Linked DNA regions of Homo sapiens: regions 1, 2, 3 and 5 are each linked to region 4. The links are contacts of gene promoters, found by promoter capture Hi-C in blood cells and fetal thymus (Javierre and others, 2016). All regions are on one chromosome and are shown on one strand. The core of a region is centred on a gene start or on the middle of the fragment in contact, and the rest is flanking DNA. Distances in the headings are between cores, read along the strand shown.

Region 1 (4,823 bases), core at 1,541-4,040, 320 kb after region 4:
TGACCCAGCCATCCCATTACTGGGTATATACCCAAAGGACTATAAATCATGCTGCTATAAAGACACATGCACACGTATGTTTATTGCGGCATTATTCACAATAGCAAAGACTTGGAACCAACCCAAATGTCCAACAATGATAGACTGGATTAAGAAAATGTGGCACATATACACCATGGAATACTATGCAGCCATAAAAAATGATGAGTTCATGTCCTTTGTAGGGACATGGATGAAATTGGAAATCATCATTCTCAGTAAACTATCACAAGAACAAAAAACCAAACACCGCATATTCTCACTCATAGGTGGGAATTGAACAATGAGATCACATGGACACAGGAAGGGGAATATCACACTGTGGGGACTGTTGTGGGGTGGGGGGAGGGGGGAGGGATAGCATTGGGAGATATACCTAATGCTAGATGACGAGTTAGTGGGTGCAGTGCACCAGCATGGCACATGTATACATATGTAACTAACCTGCACAATGTGCACATGTACCCTAAAACTTAAAGTATAATAAAAAAAAAGAAAACAAAAAAAAGAAAAAAAAAAAGAACTAAAACCAGAAAAAAAAAGTGTATTTTGTGGTTACCATTAAAAAAATAAATAAATAAATAAAATGAATCAGTTATTTTTAGCTATTAAAAAATGATTATTTTTAGAAGGCAAGATTTGGGAATAATTTTTTTTCTTTCTTTATACTTTTTGTATTATATAAATTTCTTTAATAGCTTCATTTTTAAAATTACCTTATGTTCATGTAAGAAATTATGTTTATAGAAAAGTACAAAAAAGAAAAAATCACCTGTAGGTCTAGCCCTCAGAAAGAGTTATTGTTTTGTTACATAGCCTTACAGACTTTTTTCTGAATATGTGTATACATGGTTACACATACACATATCTTTTAAACATTATTTTAAAACAAATTGAGATCTTATTTATTTTTAAATTTGCTCATTTAGCATATTGTGGACATCTTTTAATGTTAATAAATGTAGATCTGCACCATTATTTTAAATAGAATTTCATTAGATGGCATTCCCATAATTTGTTTTACCATTCTCTAAATGAGCGACATTTACAATGTTCAACATTTTTTACTATAAAAGTAATTATAGGTGAACAGCTGCTATCGTTTGTGTTTGCATTCTTATTTATTATGGTAAGTTCCTAAAAGTAGAATTTGTAGGTTTAAATATATGCTTTTTGGGTGGAGGGGGAGGCAAATTCTGTGTGTGTGTGTGTGTGTGTGTGTGTGTGACCAGGCATCAAGCAGTCTGCTGCAGATTTTTCCACTAAAGAGAAAAAGTGACAATCATCACCTGGGGCCTGAAGGTATGTCTTCAGATACCCAGCCATAAGTGTGGATTGTCTTTGTTTCATATTTTAAAAATTCATTTAGATTCTTGCATTGTACTTTAAAAAAAAAATGTCTTATGTCTCCAAATCTTTGAGTGAATTTGATGTTCTAGGAAAGTGTGTCAAGAATATCCTGTTGTTCATATAACTCCCATTATCCCTTATTCTATGCTTGAAAAATAAAAGGGATAAATCAACAAAAGCTAATTGTTAATTGAGGAATAACTGTCAACCAAGCATTATACTAGTTTACTGTGGGGAATTACAAAGAAGTTGAGAACACAGCCCCTGACTTTGAATAGCCTCCAATTTACTTATTTTCCTTTAACAAGCTCATCAAAGAATTATGCTTAACCTGATAACTGACTGGGCTATGATGAATTTGCTTGACAGGATGGAAAGTCCCTAGTAGCTTTCATTGCACACTTCCAGGACCTTGCTAATGTGTTTGTTTTGGACTTCAAGGCATTATTATTAGCATCTGTAGCATTCTAGAGTCTTGGGAAGGGGGGTCGGGTGCCCTGCTGGCAAGAAGTCAGTGTAATGAAGGTAGGAGTTTTTAGGCTTTTACATTTGGGACAAGTACAGTACAGGAAATGTAATAGATCCTAAATTAACCAGGACTGCCAAATCAGTAGACATTTGTTGTTGTTGCTTTTGTTGTTAGAGTCAGGATCTCACTTGTTGTCCAGGCTGGTCTCAAACTCCTGGTCTCAAGCAGTCCTCCTGCCTTGGCCTCCCCAAGTGCTGGGATCACAAGCTAGAGCCACATGTTACCACATGTCTGGCCAGACACTTTAATGTACATTATCTTAAACACTTAAAATTGTTACTAGGAAAATGTCCCTAGGAAAGGCTCTTATCAGAGATATTAAAGTCACATTCAGAGCCCATTTGGAGGATAACAACAAATAAGGTCCAATGTTGTTTAACTTCTGTGGCTCCATTCTATTTTCCTTACACTGACACTGATGCATAACACAGTCCCAAGAACAGAATAGGTAAATGTTGGCTGAATAAATAGATGAATGCTCCCAATAATGAATCAAAGGTATTAGATTGTATTATCACACTGTACTTACTGAAAGAACTAAAGTATGCTCTTTTGTTTTAAGAAGGCCTTTAACATCAAGGATTGATACAGAAAATGTTTGCTTGTGAACCTTGAGCAAAGCTAGAGAATGCTTTTTCTCATCTTCTGAGCCATGTCTCTCTATAGCTTACCTTTAGTCCCAAGTTTTTGCCATTATACTCCTAGGGTCTGGCTGTAGAGGGTCTCTTGCAGGGAGGATGCCTTATATCTGTTCTTTACTCTCCTGACCTCATACTGGGATCACTGACCTTTGTATAACTCTCTTGCTTAAGGTGCTGCTGTAGAAGCTCCAGACTTTGAACTTGGCATTCTTCCAGTGATGGCAGTGGCTGCTGCCATCACGTCGGCTGCAGCAGGGAGGAGCAGCTGGGGCTGCACACTCCATGGAGCGGGTGGGAGCCACGCCCTTTCTGAGTTGGGGTGGGAGCTCCCTCGGTGCCGCTGCCCCTGCCCGAATTGTGGCTGCAGACCCAGGCCTCCTGCTCTATGGAGCAGGCAGAAGACCTGCCCTCCTGGGTGGGGCTATAGCCACCCAAACTGCAGCTATGGATCGGAGCCTCCCAGTGATCTTGGGTGGGGGCCGGAAACAGGCAGGATCTGCCCTCCTGGGTGCAGCTGCAGCAGCCAGACCCGAGGCTGCAGACCTGGGCCTCCTGTTTCATGGAGCAGGAGCCGGGACAAGCAGGAGCCCAGCCCATTTCCGAGTTGATGGGGCTGGAGCTCCCGCTCTCCTAGGCGCAGGAGGACCCTGGCATCCCTGCAGCCTGTACCTTGGGGGCCCCAGGAAAAACCCTCCCTTCTCCTTTCCCAGTGTCTGCTGGGATATCTGAGTGGGGTTGGGGCCGAGCCCTGGGCCTTGAATGGCAGCGAGAGGCAGAGTCCTGGGTGGAAGGGGGCAGCCCGCATTAAGGCCCCACCTTCAGGCTGGGAAGGGCCTGAAGGCTTGGATCTGGGCTGCCAGTCCTGTGGATGGGAGTGGGGACTCGTGGTGCCTCTTCTGGACCACCCATGGCTGCCCATGGACCAATAGGCACACACTTCCTCCCCTCTGAGGTCCATAAAAGCCCTGGGCTCAGCCAGAGCAGGGCAGAGGATGGCCAGAGGAACAAAGAGGGGAGAGAAAGAGAGGATGGGACGACCAGCTGTAGAGAGGAGCTATTCTCTCTGCTGATAGCTGCAGATGATGGGATGACCAGTTGCAGAGAGGAGTTATCCTCTCTGCTGAGAGCTGCAGAGACGACTTGCTGGCAGAGAGGAGCCGTCATCTCCAGGGCCTCCTCTCTGGGGGAGAGCTGCAGAGCTGCAGACATCAGGATGACCAGTTGCAGAGAGGAGCTATCCTCTCCAGGGCCACCTCTCTGCTGAGAACTGAAAACTCCATAGATGACCTGCCTACAGAGAGGAGCTACCCACTGCAGGTCTCCTCTGAGCTGTTGTAACACTCAGTAAAGCTCATTTTTGTCTTGTTCACCCTTCACTTGTCTGCATACTTCATTCTTCCTGGATTCAGGACAAGAGCTTGGGCAAAGGTGCTGTGGCCACAGAGGTTTCTGGCCAGAAAATTGACACCCCAAAGATCCCATAACACCAGGACATGACTTCTGATGTTTCTTCTGATCCTTGCACATTTTCATTCCTCAGGAAGGAGGCACCTGTCCCCTTACTCTGACCTGAAGCCTTGTAAGATTATCAGCATGCAGCCGGGCGCAGTGGCTCATGCCTGTAATCCTAGCACTTTGGGAGGCCAAGGCGGGCAGATCACGAGGTCAAGAGATCGAGACCATCCTGGCCAACATGGTGAAATCCCGTCTCTACTAAAAATACAGATGGGCGTGGTGGCACGTGCCTGTAGTCCCAGCTACTCAGGAGGTTGAGGCAGGAAGATCACTTGAACCTGGGAAGCAGAGGTTGCAGTGAGCCGAGATTGCACCACTGCACTCCAGCCTGGCAACAGAGCGAGACTCTGTATCAAAAAAAAAAAAAAAAAAAAAAGATTATCAGCGTGACTGTTCCTCACTCAAGTTCCCACCAATGTGGGAGAACCAGACATCCTGATTCTGAATTATTTTTGCCCACGTTATTTCCCAGGACTGAGTTGAGTAGTTACAGGCAGATGTTTAGGCATTGGGTCACATGGATGTGGAATGTTATGCTACCTTTGACTTATTCTGTTTATTTATTTAAGTACATAGAATTGGATTAATTATAGTCCTTGCTTCATAAAATATTATTGTCATTGTTTCATGAATGGCCTTCTTATTTTATTTGCTTATTTATGCTTTTAGAATATAATGGATGCTACTCATTCGAGAACTAAAATATTACCAATAATTTATATCTACCTATATATATATTTTTTTCTATT
Region 2 (4,860 bases), core at 41-2,540, 460 kb before region 4:
TGTAAAAATCAATTTTACGTAGAGTCAACATTGTAGGTAGGTTAAAATACCAGTGGCAAATTTGGAAATTCAGAAACTTATAAACCACGAGAAATATATAGGCTTGTCTCTTTGGTCTTTTATTTTGGCTCTATTGTTGGGAATCTATTTCCTATTCTATAAGTAAGTATACCTAACATGCTGTGGAATCTTGAGTTTCCAACACCGTGCTGCTTGATAGAATGACTTTGAGGTCCTTGGATAAAATGTGATATATGCAAGTACAGTATGTTGCTATTACTATTGCAGGAATATAAATAATAAAAGACTGTTATTAGCACTTAGTAAGTCTTCATCTATGCATGTTTTTGAGTTGACTGATTCCAAGAATGAAATATGAGGTTTATTGAATTATTCCTTTGAAAGGGATCAAAACTTATATTCAATGCACTTTATAATTAATGGTGTCTAAATGCCTCAGTCAGTGCCTAACTGCACATACAAAAATAAAACCTTCTTTCTGTAATCTACCAAAATAAACGCAATGGTATTTCTGCTATTTAAACACATCTTTAGCTTATTTCTTCATGTTCTGCTCTGGTTTTCAGTCAGTGTCTATGTAAAGACACTTTTAGAGGAAAATGTTGTAATCCCAAAAGAATTTTTGTTTAACCAACTTTCAGAGTTACTAAAAGGATTATCTTTAATTCAGTAAATAATAGAATATAATCTTCAAAATTAGAAGATATTCTCTTAAAATTTATAACAATTAATGCAACAAAAATCAGCATATTTTGATAAATGTCTCAAGCAAATGAGCAACTCACAGGCCCCACAGGTGCCTACAGCCTGACCAGCTATACAAAAAGCCTGCAACCTGATTCTAGGATAAAATATTAGAAAGCTCTCTGTTGCTAAAACATCCAGATATAAACATTTTGGTGGCTAAAATCAATGCCATTTCCTCATTGACATTCTTTTATTCAGCAAATTTGTACAAATATACATTTTCTCCTGTGCGAATTTCAAAAAGCTATATTCATTTTGAAGAGGAAAATAATATGGCATTAAATGCTTTGTATTTTCCCCTTAGTTAGCCCTTATGGCAAAAATAGTTGCTAATCACTGATACAAAGCAAAACGTTATGGGTACTGATAACAAAGTTCCAAAAGCCAAAATGGGATGAATCACAAACTTACTGTTTTTCACTAAAACATGTAATTGGCCTATTACATCAATAGTTTTAAGTGGGTAATGTTCTTGAACAATATTAGAGCCATAAAATTGAAGCCAGTAGCTTGAACAATATGGAGGCCTTCTTACTGTAGGGAAGAGGTGTCTAGCTTAGAAGGATCACATTTGATCTAGATGAGATTACCCATAGCAGGGAAAATGAATCATCACCTACCAAAGACTGTACGGAAAGGTGTGTTATTTTCAAAATTGCATTTTAGTTTGCACACATGTAAATGATTATTCTATGTTAATCTAATTGACAATTCAGTTAGCTCCGCATCCTAAGACTTAAAACTAGCAATTCCTATGCAAATCATCTGCTTAACTGAACTACAAACGTTTTTCATTAATTCATTCTTTGATGACATATTCCATGTTATATAATAATTCAAAATAAAGTTAATATACTACCCCATTTGCCTTTGCTGCTTTTTTCTTTTTGTTTTTAATCAAGAGTTATTGCTATGTGATTTTTAGTAGCATGGAATTTTAGGGTGAATAATTCAACTCTGTAAATATATTGATATTTGGGACCCTAAATAGATATTTAAACTTTATTTTAGTAATGGACCTATGATTTCATTATCTCTGCTGTAGAGAATGAAATGATTCCAAAAAGTTTTCATTCAGAAAAGAATTCTTGGGACAGTTATTTAAGATGCTGAAAATAGAAAATTTTCTGATTTGTATTATTTATGATGCTCCTGGCCCTTTAGTCCTTTGCAATAACTTTCTCTTGTGAAGTAGCTGGTGGTTTTGCAGAACTGTTGGTGTAGGAGACAATAATTTGCAGCAGTAACATCAGGAATATGGAGATTTACAGGAACATCCTGGCTTCCATCTGCTCCATCCACCCTCTGCCGCCACAAGAAAGCTACGTCTCTTCATAAATCCCACACTGAGACACCTACTCAGAGGAAAAGAGTGCCCCCAAATACCAGGCTACTTAGAACCAGGCAGAGATGCCTGTATTTTGGTGGGGGGCTACAGATTATAGGGGTGAGAAGCTGAGTTCCTAATTTCCTAACAAAGTGCTTTTGGTGCTAGAACTGGATGTTTCAGAGGTAGTGGCCAGGTGAGGAGTCCCGGTGGCTCACGCCTGTAAACCCAGCACTTTCGGAGGCCAAGGCGAGGTGGATCACTTGAGTTCAGGAGATCAAGACCAGCCTAGGCAACATAGTGAGACGCCCATCTCTCTAAAAATAAAAAAATTAGCCGGACATGGTGGTGGTTCACACCTGCAGTCCCAGCTACTTGGGAGACTGAGGTGGGAGGATGGCTTGAGTCCAGGAGGTTGAGGCTGCAATGGTACACTCCAGCCTGGGTGATAGAGTGAGACCCTGTCTCAAAATAAGTAAATCAATAAAAATAAAAGCAGCAACTAAAATTTGTTAAAGGATTGTTACGTGCTAAGCACTTTAGATAGATAATCTTATAAAGTGTTACGCATTTTTTTCATTTACACCTGACAACAACCCTATGAAATAAACACTATTACCATCCCCATCTTACAGTTGAGGTAACTGGCTTTGAAAGACAGTCTACCTTGTAGTGGTGTCTTGGTGCTGTCCTCCAATCTTGGGAATTTTACTTTTGCTTTCTGGGGGAAGGTGGAGGAGGCAGTGGTGCCCAGATGGAGTCACAATTGTAGCATCAGAGCAGTGAAGGTGGAGAATATGGGACATGTTTTTGAAAATACTTGCAGGTAGAGTTAATGATAATTGGTGACAATTAAATATAGAGGATGAAGAAAAGAAAGGAGAGCTAAGAATTGTGCTAAAGTGTGTTAGGCATTCCCAAGATCATCCCCAGGTGTAGTGACTTGCTAGGAAGACATAGGACTCATATATCTAGTTTACTCATAAATATACTCATATACATGGTTACATATACATGTATACTCAAATACATGGTTAAGATTACAGCAAAAAGACACATAGCAAAATCAGCAAAGACAAAAGGAAAATAGAGCAAAGATAGAAGACAGCAGGTGCAAGCTTCTGAGAAACCTCTCCCACAGAATGAGCTTAATTCCTCCAGCAACCGAGTTGTGGCAGCAAGTGTTGTCTACCAAGGAAACTCATTGAAGACTTAGTGCTCAGGGTTTCAACCGGGAGCTGGTCACATAGATCCCTTCTGCCTAGCATTTACCAAAAATCAAGACCTCCAGAAGGAAAACAGGCATTCAGTATAAACCACATTGTTTGCACAAACAGTTAAGGCAAAGTGAATACTTCTTATCATTTAGGGCAAGTTTGATATCAGTGTAGGGAACTGTTTGTCAGCTGAGGGCCAACCTTGTAAGCAGGACTTCCTAAGGATAGGCAGTCTTGGGCTGGCTTTGTTAATTCTTCTTGGCCCACAAAGTTTACAAGGTGGATGAGCCAATAACTTTGTTAGGCAATAGGGAAGAATAGCAGATTTGGGGTGAGGAGATAGAGTTTGGACATGTTCACTTGGAAGGATCTGTGAAATAGATTCTAGAAGGCAGTTGGAAATAACAAATTAATGTTTAGGACAAGGCTGTTGTTACTAGTGTAGGCATCATCTGCATAGAGGTGATGGTCAAAGTCATGGGATGAATGAGGTCCCCACGGAGAATCTGCTGAGAATAAAAGAGATGGCAAAATGGCTGGGCATAGTGGCTACTGTCTGAAGGGAGGCTGAGGCGGGAGGATTACTTGAGCCCAGGAATTGAAGACCAGCCTGGGCAACATAGCAAGGCCCTGCCTCTAAATTTAATACATTTTTTTTTAAACAGATGGCAAACTGAGAATAAACTTTGAAAGAAGGGAACTCAGCAAAGAGAATGAAACAATGAACAAGAGCAGGAAGTGAAACATAATGAGGAAGGAGAAGGTCTCCAGGAGAGGAGAGCAGGCAGCGAACCACGTGAAGAAGTGTGGCCATATGACACAAAGGCTGGGAAACTCGAGGCTGCTTTTGCTCCACCACTCTGTCTTTGATGAGCTTGTTCAGTCATCAAAGAATTCTGGCCTTGTGGCTGGGCGTGGTGGCTCTTGCCTGTAATCCCAGCAGTTTGGGAGGCCGAGGAGGGTGGATCACGAGGTCAGGAGTTCCAAGACCAGCCTGGTCAAGATGTTGAAACCCCATCTCTACTAAAACTACAAAAATTAGCCGGGCACAGGGGCAGGTACCTGTAATCCCAGCTACTCGGGAGGCTGAGGCAGGAGAATCGCTTGAACCCGGGAGGCAGAGGTTGCAGTGGGCCGAGATCGTGCCACTGCACTCCAGCCTGGGCTACAGAGTGAGACTCCATCTAAAAAAAAAAAGAAAAAAAAAAGAATTCTGGCCTTGTAATGGAGATTATGGATAAGGATTGGTGAGTGGACCTGGAGCTAACGTTAAATTAAATAAAATTATTCCCTTGAAATGATTCTACTCCTCACTGGATAGAATTGTATTTGTGAAGATACTCCTGATGCTTTCTAGGAATCACCGGCCAACTATCAGTGTGCATTGCCTCTGCTCTGTACTAAGACTAAGGCAACATGAAAAAAACAGACTTGGTACCACCCTATAGAGATGCAAATAGGCGTGGTGCAATGCAAACAGGCCTGGTCAAATGAGATAATTTATGGTTGCGGATCTATACCTATGCTGGTTGATTGGTTTTAATTGGT
Region 3 (4,884 bases), core at 367-2,866, 340 kb after region 4:
GCTAAGTTTACATTTTATACTGGTTCATTTTTCCTTCTTAAGTTTCTCTTTTATTGCGCAACTGGAAGAAATGGGTCATTTTATGTTCTCTGGAACCAAAGATAAATTCCCACTTGTTCCCATGACTCCCAGCAGATATCACAAGACCTCTGTCTACTAGACCCTGCCGAGACCGTGGCAACCCTGTGGCTGCCCGTCCAAGCATGCCCAGTGTTTGCTGCCACCACCGCCACAGCATCTATGGTCTTGGGTGCTGGCGGGAGAACATTTTGCATCAGAAACCATGGCTGAAGGTGATCTCGCTAAAAAAATCCTGTCCTGTATGTTACCTTTCACTGTTTCCCACAACTGATTTAGAGCCCAAGGAAAAGGATGCTAAGAGCTTGGGTTCTTTCTCACTGCAAATCTGTGAGCTGGTACTCTTAACCAGCTTTAACTCTTAACCAGTGAGTTAACTCTGTGAGCTTTAACTCTTTACCAGTCACTGCTTCCCCGTACAACCAGCCTGCTTAACCTAGAAGTAAGGGAAAAATCACTCCTTTGCTATTACCCTGCTTTTACCTGACCCCAGACCCCCAAGTCCTAGATATTAAAGTGGGATTTAAAGTCTTTTTTTATTGTTAAATTTGTAGCCAAGGCATGTAGAGGTGTTTGTTCCCTAGTGGGTGGCAGGTTGCAGTCTAATTTTATTTTCATTTTCAAGATTTGGTTTCAGGGCTTAATGTGGGAAATTAGGTGATCATGAATAGAAAGTAATTGTGCAACCATCTATGTCTGATTTATTAAAAAACAAAACTCTGAAAAGGAAAATCACAGCAGTGCCTCATAGTTGTACTTCTATGTTAATATCTGTTTGTCAAAAAGCTTTTCCCCTTTGCACATAATAGGTGATATAAAAGTGTTTCCTAAAATCTCAAATGTAAACTATACCAACAACATGTTCTATTCAGAAATCTGTTTTAGAACAGCTTTTGCATGTTAATGATAAATTCATTTCATTATTAGATTTTTCCTATAATTAGAGATATCTTTTAAAAAGTGAAACAATACCTGCCTCTTAATAAAGTCTTCCTCTTTGTTGAATGAACTAACAAATGAAGACTTCAGGGAAGACTAAAACCATCCTCTACCAAATTCCATGGTATGGCTTGGGACTAGATTGCCTTTGGCTCTGGCAGAACATTATAATCCCTGGAGGGATCTCCTGAATTTAGTAAATGCCTCCTGTGAGTTGAATGACACATTTCTTTGCTAGTGGGTGGGAGTATTCCTACGGTTTTTTTCAGCGTGGATAGTGCCAGGAATCCTAAGGGCTTTGCTTTCAAAAGCAGACAAATAACTCAGTTTTGCAAACCTCAGAGGATCAGTAAGAGAAAGTGACCCAAGCCCCAGAGAAAAAGCAGGGATGTTTAAGGATAGAACCATCCCTTTATTTATCCTTTTATCTCATTCCAGAACCATAAATCTCTTCGCCGTCTTGGATTGCCTCCCTATAACAACATGTGGTAGAGATTTTGGCCCAAGTACTAATTAAACCTGAAGGAACCCCAAGGGGAAAACTCAGTCTTGAGTCTCCCTCTGGTGGACATTTGTAGTAATCCACATACAGCTCTGTCAAATGAAGGGACGAATTTCAGAAATAAATATTCAAAGAATAGTAAACATATTCTAAGACACCAGCACTATGCACTATTATTTTCTATGCATTAATTAAAATTCTTAAATTATTCACCTCTATAATCTTCTGTTTTATTTCCTAGAATTTACCCTCACTTTGAAAATCTGAGCTGGATGCAGTGGTTCACGCTTGTAATCTCACCACTTTGGGAGCCCAAGGCAGTAGGCTCATTTGAGGCCAGGAGTTCCAGACCAGCCTGGCCAAAATGGCGAAACCCTACCTCTACTAAAAATACAAAAATTAGCTGGGCATGGTGTTGAGCGCCTGTAATCCCAGCTACTCGGGAGGCTGAGGCAGGAGAATCACTTGAACCCGGGAGGCAGGAGAATCGCTTGAACCCAGAAGGCGGAGGTTGCAGTGAGCCGAGCTAGCGCCACTGCACTCCAGCCTGTGTGACAGACCGAGACTCCGTCTTGATTAAAATAAAATTTAATAAAAAGTTTAAACAATTCCTTGAAACAAAACAGCCTAGAGTCCCCTCACCCCAGCGCTACAAAGTAAATGAAAGAAGTAAACAGTTTGTCCATCTCCATTTCCATTCTAACACAGAACACCAAAGCAGAGATGATTTAAAATTTGCCATTTGTAATTAACTGCTGGGCAGGATTCCACTGGAAAATTTCCCTCTCACCTTTAACTTGAATCCAGAGGAGGTTTAAGGTGTTATCAGCTCTTCCTCAGGGAAGCTTCCACGCAGGAGGCTTTCTTTGGAGCTCTGTTCCCTAGGTAGCTCCAGGATCTTTGGACTTTTCTTGTGCTTATATAGTTAATGGCCCTCTGAATTGCTCTCTTCAAAAGGGGAACCGTTTGAACTTGGGGGGCGGAGGTTGCAGTGAGCCGAGATCTCGCCATTGCACTTCAACCTGCGCGACTGAGCAAGACTCTGTCTCAAAAAAAAAAAAAAAAAAAAAAAAAGGCCAGGGGCGGTGGCTCACACCTGTAATCCCAGCACTTTGGGCAGGCGGATCAGGAGGTCAGGAGATCGACACCATCCTGGCTAACACGGTGAAACCCTGTCTCTACTAAAAATACGAAAATTAGCCGGGCATGGTGGGCGGGCTCCTGTAGTCCTAGCTACTCCGGAGGCTGAGGCAGGAGAATGGCGTGAACCCGGGAGGCGGAGCTTGCAGTGAGCCGAGATCGCGCTACTGCACTCCAGCCTGGGCGACAGAGCGAGACTCCGTCTCAAAAAAAAAAAAAAAAAAAAAAAAAAAAAAAAAGGAGTAGGGGAGACAGTGAAGAAATGCCTCTCCATTCTTCAGATCTGACTCTTGCTCACGTTCTTCTGTCGTTACACTCATCTTCAGGCTCAGGCTCCATTTGATGTGCTCTGGAGTCTGATATTTGAGCAGGACTCCTTATTCCTCCGCCAGTGAATCTTCTTCCCACTACCAGATTCACAGGCTAGTGTTAATTTCTCTTTACGTATTTTACTATTTTGAAGTTTGTAAGGTTAACCGTAGTTCCATTACTTAAAAAAAAATTCTTTCCCTTAAATAGACAATCGCTATATCCTAGTTATAACTGGTAATGATCTCGGCTTGTAGTACACTTAGGTTTACATAAATGTCCTTTTCTGATACTCTTGCTCCCTAACTAGAATCTAACACCATCTTTTAATTTTTTAAATTAATATACAACAAAATTGACTTTTTTGGGGAGAGTTTTAGCTCTAGAGGTTTTAACATATATAAATTCATGCAATAACCATCACAATCAGGATACAGAATAGTTCTATCACCCAAAATACTAACTCATGCTATCCTTTTATGGTCCTATCCTCCTCCACCTTAACCCTTGACAACTACGGATGTGTTCTCAGTACCTATAGTTTTGCCTTTTCCACAATATCATATAAATGGAAACGTATAGCATATAACCTTTTGAGACTGGCTTAGGATACTATCTTTGATAATTATTCATGTTGTTGTGTGTATCTGCTATGGACTGAATGTTTATGCCCAACCCCAACTTCCTATGTTGAAATCCTAACCCTCAATGTAATATTAGGAGGTGGGGCCTTTGGGAGATAATTAGGTTTGGATTGTGAGGGTGGAGTCCTTCAACGGGATTAGTGCCTTTATAAAAAGAGGAAGAGGCCGGGTGCCGTGGCTCACGCCTGTAATCCCAACACTTTGGGAAGCTGAGGTGGGCGGATCACGAGGTCAGGAGATCAGACCAGAGACCATCCTGGCTAACACGGTGAAACCCCGCCTCTACTAAAAATACGAAAAATTAGCCGGGCGTGGTGACGGGAGCCTGTAGCCCCAGCTACTCGGGAGGCTGAGGCAGGAGAATCGCTTGAACCTGGGAGGCGGAGGTTGCGGTGAGCTGAGATCGCGCCACTGCACTCCAGCCTGGGAGACAGAGAAAGACTCTGTCTCAAGAGAAAAAAAAAAAAAAAAAAAGCTGGGGAGGAGACACCAAATAGAACTCATTTTCTCCTCCTTGTCAGGAAACCATGAGAAGGCTGCTCTTGGCAAGCCAGGAAGAAGGCCTTAGCCAAGAACCGAATTGAATCTAAGGGCACCTTGATCTTGGACTTCTCAGCCTCTAGAACTGTGAGAAATATGTCAGTCATTTAAGCCATCCTGTCTATGGTATATAGCAGTCTTGACGAAGACAATGTTAATAGTTGGTTCCTTTTTGCTGCTGAGTAGTGTTCCATTGGATGGATGCTCCACAGTATGTTTATTACTATTTACTCATTGAAGTATATTTGGGTTGTTTCCGGATTTGACGATTATAAATAGTTTCTATAAACATTTTAGTTTTCATTTCTCTAGGGTAGATAACTAGGAGTGCCACTGATGAGTCATTGGATAAGTACATGTTTAATTTGATAGGAAACTGCCAAACTGTTTTCCAGAGTGGCTGTAACATTTTGAATTATCACCTCTAACATATGAGAGTTAAGTTGTTCCATCCAGTATGTGGTCTTGTCGTGATTTTTTAGTTTAGTAACTCTAATAGGTGTGTAATAGTATCTCATCCTGTAGTAGTATCCTGATTTGCATTTCCCTAAGGGCTAATGATATTGAACATTTTTTCATGTGCTTATTTGCTATTCTTACATCCTCTGAGGTGAAGTATCTGGATACAAATCCTTTAATGGATATGTAATTTGCAAATATTTCTCCTGCTCTGTAGCTTGTCCTTTAATTCTCTTAACAGTGTTTTTCACAGGGGAAAGATATTTTTAGACC
Region 4 (4,794 bases), core at 223-2,722:
TGCGCCTCCGGGTCTGGACCGGGTTTCAGGAAGTTTGTGATCTCGTGTGGGGAGGCTCGGACGCCGCTTTCTACTGGGCTCCTGCAACTCCCAATTCCCGACCCACTGCACAAGCGCGGTGCTCCTCTGCGAATGCTGGGCTCGTGCAAACACGTGTAACCCCGCACTCCCTGGGGACGCCCCCTCTTTTGGGTGCCCTCGTGGTTTGGGATTCGGGCCCGGAGCACAGGATCCGGCAGGGCGCGGGAAAATGGGAGCAACCCGTGTCCCGTAGCCCAGAGACCGCGGGGAGGCTGGGAGCGCCGGGCGGGACGCAGGGTTGGGTGCGCGTCGCATCCCGGATACTCACCGGGACCTCTGCAGCTGCTCGAAGGCGCTGGTGCTGCCGCCCTGGCCTGGCTGCTCCAGGGAGCAGTAGTTCTGCGAAGTCGGCCTGGAGAAGGCGATGGGCAGGATTCCCTGAGTGAACGAGTTGAGGCGTCCCCGACTGCCGCTCCCACTCCCGGGGGTCCCGGAGCCCAAAAAGGCGGCCGCCGGCACCTGCACGCTGATAAAGGCATCGTCCTCCTCCAACTCCTCCTGCCCGGCGGCCCCGGACCCGTCGAGCAGCTGCAGTTGGGCACAGGCGGCGAGAGGCGCCGGCCGGGGCGGCTGCCACTGCTCCCCCGACGCCCGGCCGGCGCCCAGGGGACTCGCGAACCCCCGCGCCACCCCGGGGCCGGACACGGTCGCATGGCCGCCAGGAATCAAGGGCGGCAGCGACGAGGGCTGTGGGAGGCAGGGGCCGGACCCAGCGGCTAACCCCGCAGCCGGCGTGCCCGGCGCGGCGAGCGCGATGCAGCCGCCCCGCTCGGCAGCGGCGAGCAAGCTGAACCGAGTCCTCGCGCCGCAGGCGCCGCCGGCGCCCGGCTTGGCCGCGCCGCCCTCCTCGCCACCGCCCCACTCCGCGTCCTGCGGCGGCAGCCGGCCGTCCAGCGAGATGTTGGTGAGGAAGGAGAGGGCAGCCTGGCGGCGCCGCGGGTCCATGCGCGGCTTCCGGGGGGGTTCGGGCGGCGGCTGGGCCGGCGCGGCGGCCGCGGGCTGAGGCTGGGGCTGCGGCGGCGGCTGCTGCAATCCGCTGGCGCCCGCGGCGTCGGTGCCGGCGCTGCCGCTGCTGCAGGCGGCCGTGGTGGCGGCCGCCGCCGCCGCCGCCATTGTGTCCGTCTGCGGCGGGATTTCCGCGATGCCCGGAGAAGCGAGCGGCGCCCGAGCGCTAAGCGGCGGGCGCGAGCGGCGGCGACCCGGGCTGGGTAGGGCGCGGGGATCGGGCGGCGTGCGCGGCGGTCCAGCCCCCCCGCGGGCGGGCCATGCTCGCCCCTCGGTGCTGGGGATGGGGGCGCCGCCGCCCCGGCCCACGCGCACGCCTCGCTACCTAGCTCGGCTAGTTCGGCTCGCTGGCTGGCCGCCCGCCGGTCGCCTGGCCGCTGGCTCGCGGGCTCCGGGGCCGGGTGTCCGTATTTATAGGTGCGCGCGCCCCGCGCTCGCGCTCCAAAGCCCTCTTTGCAATAACACGGAATCACGTGTGGGGAATGCGACCTGGGAGGAAAACAAAGCCGCAGGCGGCGGCCGCAGAGGCAGACGGCGGGAGGCAAGGGGCCACGGGAGGAGGAAGAGGAGGACGCGAGAGCCGAGCGGGTGGTGGGGCGGGGGATCGGCCCGGCTGTCCGGGTTGTCGGAGCTGCCTGCTGGGAGAGTTGGCGACTCCCGGGGCCGCGGAAGCCAGGTGCGGGAGGCGAGCACGTTTCCCCCGCGCGCTCGCACTGGGAATTGGGTGAGCGAGCAGAACCCGGTGGGTTAGGTCCTGGGGCTGTGCTCCTGGGAGAGTTGTGGGTCTACAGGACGGTTATGTGGAGCGTTGCAGAGTTTTGGACTGCGAGCGAGTTACTTGGACCCCGCAAGGCCGTTGGTCCCCGAGAAGTAAATAGATCCTTTTCATAATAACACGGGTAAGTCCACAGCCCCTATGGAGACTGTCCCACCGTAAAGCTATCGCTAACAACCATTGCAGTTGGGTCTATTCATTCCCAGGCCAAGGATGCAGCCCCCGGGATAAATGCACGCCTTGGGATGCATAAGAGCCCAGAAGCACGAACATCTTACATGTGGCCAACGAACTCACGCATCCCCAATCCATGGTATTGTCACTTTTCATCTCTCTCTTAGCAAAGGACAACGCAAATTTTTTACTTTGGCTCTGAAATGTGCTCCATTTTCTGTGAAGACCCAGGTGGGCTAAAATGACCTTACACTCTTTTCCCCTGGTCACCTTGCAAATTTTTGTAGATTATGATCTCTTCTCCCTCATAAACTGGGACCAATGTGGACAGTTACCCTGTCGTTTATCTCATAAGCACGTTTGGCACCTACCATGTCTTCTATAAATACGGGTTCCTGACGGCCCTCCCAGAGCAGTAGCTCTGAATCTGGGAGGAGTCGCAGTCCCCACCCACAACGAATGCTTGTTTTGGTTGGGGGTGGGGGCGGGGGCGGGGACAGGGTGGAGGAGTTCACCTGGAGGGATCTGAAAACGTGTGCGGGTTTCCCCAGGCGGTATGGGCAACTTAACAAATGCAGTAAGGAACAATTGCCACACTGAATTAAGCTCTGTGACACCTAAGAAACCTGCTGCACTTTTGAGGGAGAAGCAATGTGTTTCAGATCAACGGATTAATTTAATTAAAGGTTTAAATTTAGCCCTGGAGCTAATGGGTAACTCTACATTGAAATTCCACTCCATTTCAAGTTCAGGAAAGTAAATTGAGTAATGGAGAGCAAATACACCGTCCAGAGAGGTGCCGCCAACCCGGAGTGCCAGACAGAGAGGGTTTCAGGTTACATTTGCTCAGGACAGAGATGGCACGTGGCCCTTTACATGAACAATCGTTGTTATATTTTATTTTGTGCTGTTTTTAGGCCTTTTGAAAACATGGAGCCTGGTGTCTGTTTACAGCAGCCTCATGTCAGTGGAGTCAAAGCTCAATGGCCAGCTCTGTGAAATTTCACCAGGATTTTAATTATTTTGGCTAACTACCTTGAAACTTCCAAGCCCTTTTATGACAATTGACTTAATTTACATGACCACTGGCCTGGTTGGGAGGCAGTGTTAAGTGAAAGACTCCAACGGTGCTCCTGTAAAATATATTTTCCATCATTCAAAAATGATAAATGTTAATTTCAGAACATAAGATAAGCAAAGAGGAGCAAAAAAAAAGGGGGTATCACTAACAATATCTTCTGTGGAAATAACGTAAAACTTAAATTTTGATTTCTGTTTTGTATTTTCATATATTTTATAGAGAGATATGTATATATATTCTTTTAGCCTGTCACCCAGGCTGGAGTGCACTGGTGTGATCATAGCTCACTGCAGACTCCTGAGCTCAAGCGATTCTCTCTGCCTCAGCCTCGCGAATAGCTGGGACTACCGGCACCCACCACACCTGGCTAATTTTTTTAAAAAAATTTGGCCTGGCACGGTGGCTAAAGCCTGTAATCCCAGCACTTTAGGAGGCCGAGGCAGGCAGATCACGAGGTCAGGAGTTCGAGACCAGCCTGGCCAACATGGTGAAACCCTGTCTCTACTAAAAATACAAAAATTAGCTGGGCATGGTGGTACGTGCCTGTAATCCCAGCTACTGGGGAGGCTGAGGCAGGAGGGCAGGAGAACGGCTTGAACCCAGGAGGCGGAGGTTGCAGTGAGCCGAGATCGTGCCACTGCACTCCAGCCTGGGTGACAGAGCAAGACACCATCTCAAAAAAAAAAAAAAAAAAGAAAAGAAAAAGAAAAAATTTTTTTGTAGAGATGAAGTCTCACTATGTTGCCCGGGCCGGTCTGGAACTTCCAGCCTCAAGCAGTCCTCCCATGGTGGCCTCCCAAAGCACTGGGATTACACGTATGAGCTGTCATACCTGGCCTTGGGTGTGTTTTTAAACAAAAGTGAAATCGGCTGTTTTGTTTTGTTTTGTTTTGTTTTGTTTTTTTGAGACGGAGTCCTGCTGTCTGACCCAGGCTGCAAGCTCCGCCTCCCGGGTTCATGCCAGTCTCCTGCCTCAGCCCCCCCCGAGTAGCTGGGACTACAGGCGCCCGCCACCACGCCCCGCCAATTTTTTTGTATTTTTAGTAGAGACGGGGTTTCACCGTGTTAGCCAGGATGGTCTCAATCTCCTGACCTCGTGATCCGCCCGTCTCGGCCCCCCAAAGTGCTGGGATTACAGGCATGAGCCACTACGCCCAGCCAGGCTGTTTTGTCTCTTGTGATTTTTGCCTGCTGTGTTGTGATTATCTTTCCATGTAGAATATTTTTCTGCATGGAAGAATTTTTATTTTAATGACTACATAGTGTTCAATTTGATGGAGAGACTGTACACTTTTAAACCTGTGCATTTAATAAATTTGTGGTTTCCACTTTTGCTCTTATAAAGCAATGATGACTTCCTTTGTTTTTCTAAATCTTGCTACCACCCAATATTATTTTCTTAGGTTAAATAGATGCTGGGGCAAATGGCATTTCGTGTTTTTAAGGTTTTCATCCTTAAAGGTTGTTCAGTCTGCTTTCTTACAATTTTGCTGGGTATTGAAATGTTTCTATCATCCCCCCAAAATATTTACAACCATGATACATCGATTAAAAAATACCAAAAAGTTTCCATCAGTATGCATTTTTTATAACCTTCATTTTCTATAACCTTTTGTCTACTGTAAGTGTGAAGTATGAAACGAATTTCAAATATTTATTAAAGCATCAAACAAGAATC
Region 5 (4,747 bases), core at 1,262-3,761, 350 kb before region 4:
ACCACCGCCTCCTGGATTCAAGTGATTCTCCTGCCTCAGCCTCCCAAGTAGCTGGGATTACAGGCGCCTGCCACCACACCTGGCTAATTTTTTGTATCTTTAGTAGAGACGGCGTTTCACCATGTTGGCCAGGCTGGTCTTGAACTCCTGACCTCGTGATCCACCCGCTTCGGCCTCTCACAGTGCTGGGATTACAGGCATGAGCCACTTCAGCCCGCCGGAAGCTGACATTTGCTGCCGCTTTGTTCCACAATGAACTTGCTGCTTTGAAAGCGGTGACTGAGAGGTTGAGACACTGAGCAGAAAAGGAAAGCTAAGAAGCTGAAAAGCTGTTAAAACTTTTTTTAAGGCAGATTCAGGACTGGGACAGTAAAATCTGGGGTACAGAGCCTGCTAGAGGCAGTCCTGGGGCCCTGGAGGGGACTCTGACCTAGGAACAGGTCAACTAAAATAGGGGGAAACCTTAAGTGCAGCCTCGAGCCAGCTCTACCCTTGATGGATACCTGGCTGCCCTGCCCACTGCTGGGGTTACTGAATCAGCGCTTAGTTCATTAGTTTGTTTTTCTTCTCCTTTCTTAGTTTACTATGAGCCAGTGTTTCCGGAGCCACCAAAAAAGCTCAATATAACTCCTGGTGTTTAAGATAAGCACTTGACATGCTTGTTTTCCTTTTACAGCAGCTTAAAATGTGCGTCTGACAGTTTCTAAAACCTAAAACAACACATAGGCTTTTCTGTTTATTTTTATTCTTATTTTTATTTTAAGTTCCGCTTTTCTGTTTTGCTGAGTTTTGTTTGCTTTAATTTTTGTTTTATAGTCTTTGTTAGACTCTATGACAGATGTCTGAAGGCATATGTAGCCAAATTTGTATAGTGGCTCTCACTACTTGGCATGTTTTCAGGTGGCTTTTACTTTGTTCTTTAAACTTTCTAAAGTCCTTTTTGTTTTAAAATGAGGATGAATAATATTTACAAAGAGCTATTTCTAAAGTATGTATTTGCTGGCAAATCTTGACTACGTATCACTGTTTTGGAACCTGCTTTTTCATTTCAGAAGTGTTTTATGTTTGAATGCATCTTTCTTTCTCTCTTTTCTTTCTTTCTTTCTTTCTTTCTTTCTTTCTTTCTTTCTTTCTTTCTTTCTTTCTTTCTTTTTCTTTCTTTTTTTTTTTTTTGAGACGGAATTTCCCTCTGTGGTCCAGACTGGAGTGCAGTGGTGCGATCTCGGCTCACTGCAACCTCCACCCCCCGGGTTCAAGTGATTCTCCTGCCTCAGCCTCCCAAGTAGCTGGGATTACAGGTGCCTGCCACCATGCCCAGCTAATTTTTGTATTTTTAGTAGAGATGGGGTTTTGCCATGTTGGCCAGGCTGGGCTTGAACTTTTGACCTCAGGTGATCCACACGCCTCGGCCTCCCAAAGTGCTGGTATTACAGGCGTGAGCCACCGTGCCGGGCCTGAATGCATGTTTCTTTCTACATTTGCATTTGCATGTACATATGTATATAACAAGTGTCAGGAGTAATGTATATGGTGATTGTCTTGTACTGTGGGTGATTTCTGCTTTTTTCCCCCTATGGTTTCCAGAAGTTTCAGGAGGGTCTGCAGATGCTGGTAAGACCCCCGCCCCAGTTGGTTTCCAGGTTCTTGACACCTTTTCGAGAAAGAATTCAGGGACAAGTCAGAATGAAGGGAAAGGCAAAAAGCTTTTATTGCAAAGTGATAGTATGCACTGAAGAGAGAAGTGCAGGCATGTTTGTGAGAATGAGTCACACAGAGGGAGTTTGGGTTTCTAATTTTATGGGTGTTTCTTTAATTAGGGGGTGAAATAATCATTAGGTATTTTGGAAGAGGGGGGATTTCAGGGACCCCCCACTGTCCCACACCCCCAGGTACCACCCCCTTTCTCCCTGATTTGGGTTTGCACTGAAGAGTCATGGACATGTCACCCTGTCTCTGTTGCCAAGGCTGGAGTGCAGTGGCGTGATCTCGGCTCACTGCAACCTTTGTCTCCTGGGCTCAGGTGATCCTCCCGAGTAGCTGGACTATAGGCGTATGCCACCATGCCCAGCTATTTTTTTTTTTTTTTTTTTGTATTTTTGGTAGAGAAGGGGTTTCACCATATTGCACAGGCTGGTCTCGAACTCCTGACCTCAGGTGATCTGCCCTCCTCAGCCTCCCACAGTGCTGGGATTACAGTCATGAGCCACCAAACCCAGCCTTCTCCTCCTGATTTTGGGTTTTCTGTTATCCCACAGTTTCTTTGCCTAGCTCTTGTTTAAGCTCTTGTGTGGATTCTTCCATCCTCTTGCGAGCACCCAGTGATCTTCCTATCTCATTCCCCCTTCAGAGATTTCCATCCCTTATTCTTAAGGGTTGATGAGGGAGGAGGTCAGTCATCTGTGTCGTCTTCTTGCTGATTTAAGGGCGCTGGCCCTGCCTACCAAAGGATTGGAAATCTCTGGCTGCTGGTCTAAGGATCCCAGGCTGCATTAGCAGGAGAGTCCCATGCTGAGACAGGAATTGGCTGAAATCCTTGCATCACCATCATCTTTACATGGAGTTGCTGTAACCTAGAAGATATAAACTTTATAAGGAAGTTGAATACGCATGGGCCAAATATTTTTATTATTATTATTTTATTTATTTTTTGAGACAGAGTCTCACTCTGTCACCAGGCTGGAGTGCAGTGGTGTGATCTCGGCTCACTGCAACCTCCGCCTCCCAGGTTCAAGCAATTCTCCTGCCTCAGCCTCCTGAGTACCTGGGACTACAGGCGCGTGCCACCATGCCCAGCCAATTTTTGTATTTTTAGTAGAGACAGGGTTTCACCATATTGGCCAGGATGGTCCCAATCTCTTGACCTCATGATCTGCCCGCCTCAGCCTCCCAAAGTGCTGGGATTACAGGTGTGAGCCATCATGCTCGGCCCAATGGGCCAAATACTAACAATAAGATCACCATTAATGGGCCTAAAAGTGGTAAAACCAGGTAACAGAAAGTAGAGCAGCCTTAACGCATTCCCTTTGGAATCGGCCAAAAGGTTTTCCTTTCCAAAGGTGTGAAGCCCTTTTGCTTGGTCAGCTGTGCCTGAATTCCAAAGTGGGGGAAGGTATGGCGAGGCGTGACTGACTCCCAGCTTCCTGTCATGACCTGAACTAGGTTTTCAGGCTGTTTCGGTTGTTGTTTGGATTCCCTTTGGCCAAGAGAGAGATCCATTCTGTTGGGGGCTTCTAATTTTTTTTTTTTTTTTTTTTTTTTAGTTTATATTTTCTCTTTTTTTGTCAACGCATCCCAGAGGCAGTGTTGATGGCCAAGCTTTCATTCTGGCCCATATTGATGCTGGGGTGGCATGCTACAGGCCCTGGGTCCTTCATGTCCCCTAGTGGGACCCCTATGGCCAAGAGACTTAGAGTCAAAAAAACTTATTGCCAATTAAACATGCTAGACAAGATAGGAATGGAGGTGGGCAGGGACTCAAGCTTCAGCCTGTTTTCCCTTTGCTCCCCCTTTCCCTTTTGTGTGCACTTTTAGGTCTGAAGGTTTGTCCTTTCCTGCTGCCTTCTTTTTTGGCTTCGTTTCTACTTTTGCAGGAGCAGGGTTAGGGGACAACTGTGCCCATCTCCTCCTGGGCTTTTCCTTCACAGCCCTCTTGACTGAGCTGACCTTCCTCCTGGGCATGTTGGTGGTGGGGAGGGGGCCTGCCGGGTGCCTACGGGCAATGGCGAAACCAGAGCCTTCTGGAAGCTGGGCTCACCAGCTGCTGCCGCTCCTCCCACCACCCAAGCTGCCGAGACCTGTGGCAGATTTTTTTCCCTCAAGTTTATAGAGCTATCTGTAGTAGCTCACTCATGTATTCTGTAATGAATACCCCACCTTCCCCACCCCTCCATCTGCCACTTTCTTATCTACCGAATTTGATCTTAACTCCTCAAAAAGCTAGCCAAGTCTGGGAGAAAGTTGGAAAGCTTAGGATGGTAAAAGTAATGCTGTTCCAAATGCAACCTTGTATTATTTTTACACTGGAAACAAATCGGAAAAGAATAAAAACAAGAGGCTTTCAAATTAGTAAACTGATGTCTCCAAGTATAAAACACACTTTGATAACTTATTTTTATGTAATCCTGACAAAAATCCAATAGAAAAATATTGTCTTCAAAAACCTAAGGATCAAGGTTTGAAAATATAATCAGATGAGCTTTTCTCTGCTCCTATAGAGCTTGGAATTTCAAAAGGTGCAGAAAACAATCTCTTCTGATGCCCGGAGCCCAAATGAGCAGTAAGAAATGTACTCCTAACACATCTTAGGGCCTATTGTCTTCATCTTCCTTAGAGTCTCCCGTGCTCAACATTTCCCCATCAGCTGCCTCGCTTCATCCTGCTTTTTGTTCAAAGGTTTTTTAAAAAAGGAAATACCATATGCTGAGGGGAAAAAAATTGCAGGGATGTATGCCACACTATAAACAATGGTCTTTGGAATATGAAGGACTTTTACTTTTTTTTCTGAGACAGAGTCTTGCTCTGTTGCCCAGGCTGGAGTGCAGTGGCACCATCTCAGCTCCTCTGCCTCCTGGGTTCAAGTGATTCTCCTGCCTTAGCCTCCCAAGTAGCTGGGATTACAGGCATGTGCCACCACACCCGGCTAATTTTTGTATTTTTAGTAGAGACAGGAATTCACCATGTTGGCCAGACTGGTCTCAAACTCCTGACCTCAGGTGACCTGCCCACCTCGGCTTCCCAAAGTGCTGGG

What was found. Contacts are between HindIII fragments. The CHiCAGO score rates a contact against its expected background, and 5 or more counts as called.
Region 1: a fragment that was not itself captured here is called in contact with the fragment with the promoter of CABLES1 in region 4 in 3 of 17 cell types (naive B cells, total B cells and megakaryocytes); the score reaches 5.5 in naive B cells.
Region 2: a fragment that was not itself captured here is called in contact with the fragment with the promoter of CABLES1 in region 4 in 1 of 17 cell types (neutrophils); the score reaches 5.1 in neutrophils.
Region 3: a fragment that was not itself captured here is called in contact with the fragment with the promoter of CABLES1 in region 4 in 6 of 17 cell types (megakaryocytes, total B cells, naive B cells and 3 more); the score reaches 10.5 in megakaryocytes.
Region 5: a contact is called between a fragment that was not itself captured here and the fragment with the promoter of CABLES1 in region 4, in 1 of 17 cell types (megakaryocytes). The highest score is 6.4, in megakaryocytes.

What each region holds. Positions count from the first base shown.
Region 1 is chr18:22,815,029-22,819,851 of GRCh38, reverse strand. All of the region lies in intron 2 of RBBP8-AS1 (RBBP8 antisense RNA 1), which reads left to right. The region is part of intron 1 of LOC124904263 (a long non-coding RNA gene); the gene reads right to left. Among named protein-coding and RNA genes, the nearest start is that of RBBP8, 120 kb to the left of the region's middle. The HindIII fragment of the contact is 7,819 bases long and covers 1-4,823 here.
Region 2 is chr18:23,595,697-23,600,556 of GRCh38, reverse strand. It overlaps ANKRD29 (ankyrin repeat domain 29), which reads left to right. Exons shown (of 10, transcript NM_173505.4): 10 at 1-1,631. Among named protein-coding and RNA genes, the nearest start is that of NPC1, 12 kb to the right of the region's middle. The HindIII fragment of the contact is 3,850 bases long and covers 1-3,215 here.
Region 3 is chr18:22,795,913-22,800,796 of GRCh38, reverse strand. All of the region lies in intron 2 of RBBP8-AS1 (RBBP8 antisense RNA 1), which reads left to right. LOC124904263 (a long non-coding RNA gene) reads right to left here and starts at 2,567. Exons shown (of 2, transcript XR_007066308.1): 1 at 2,310-2,567. The HindIII fragment of the contact is 1,500 bases long and covers 867-2,366 here.
Region 4 is chr18:23,132,163-23,136,956 of GRCh38, reverse strand. It overlaps CABLES1 (Cdk5 and Abl enzyme substrate 1), which reads right to left and starts at 1,472. Exons shown (of 10, transcript NM_001100619.3): 1 at 350-1,472. The coding sequence starts at 1,194. RefSeq lists silencers at 604-853, 954-1,163, 1,294-1,503, 1,624-1,703, 2,464-2,573 and 3 more and an enhancer at 2,124-2,273. The HindIII fragment of the contact is 5,609 bases long and covers 1-4,794 here.
Region 5 is chr18:23,483,931-23,488,677 of GRCh38, reverse strand. No RefSeq gene overlaps it. Among named protein-coding and RNA genes, the nearest start is that of RMC1, 17 kb to the left of the region's middle. RefSeq lists an enhancer at 266-435. The HindIII fragment of the contact is 1,612 bases long and covers 1,706-3,317 here.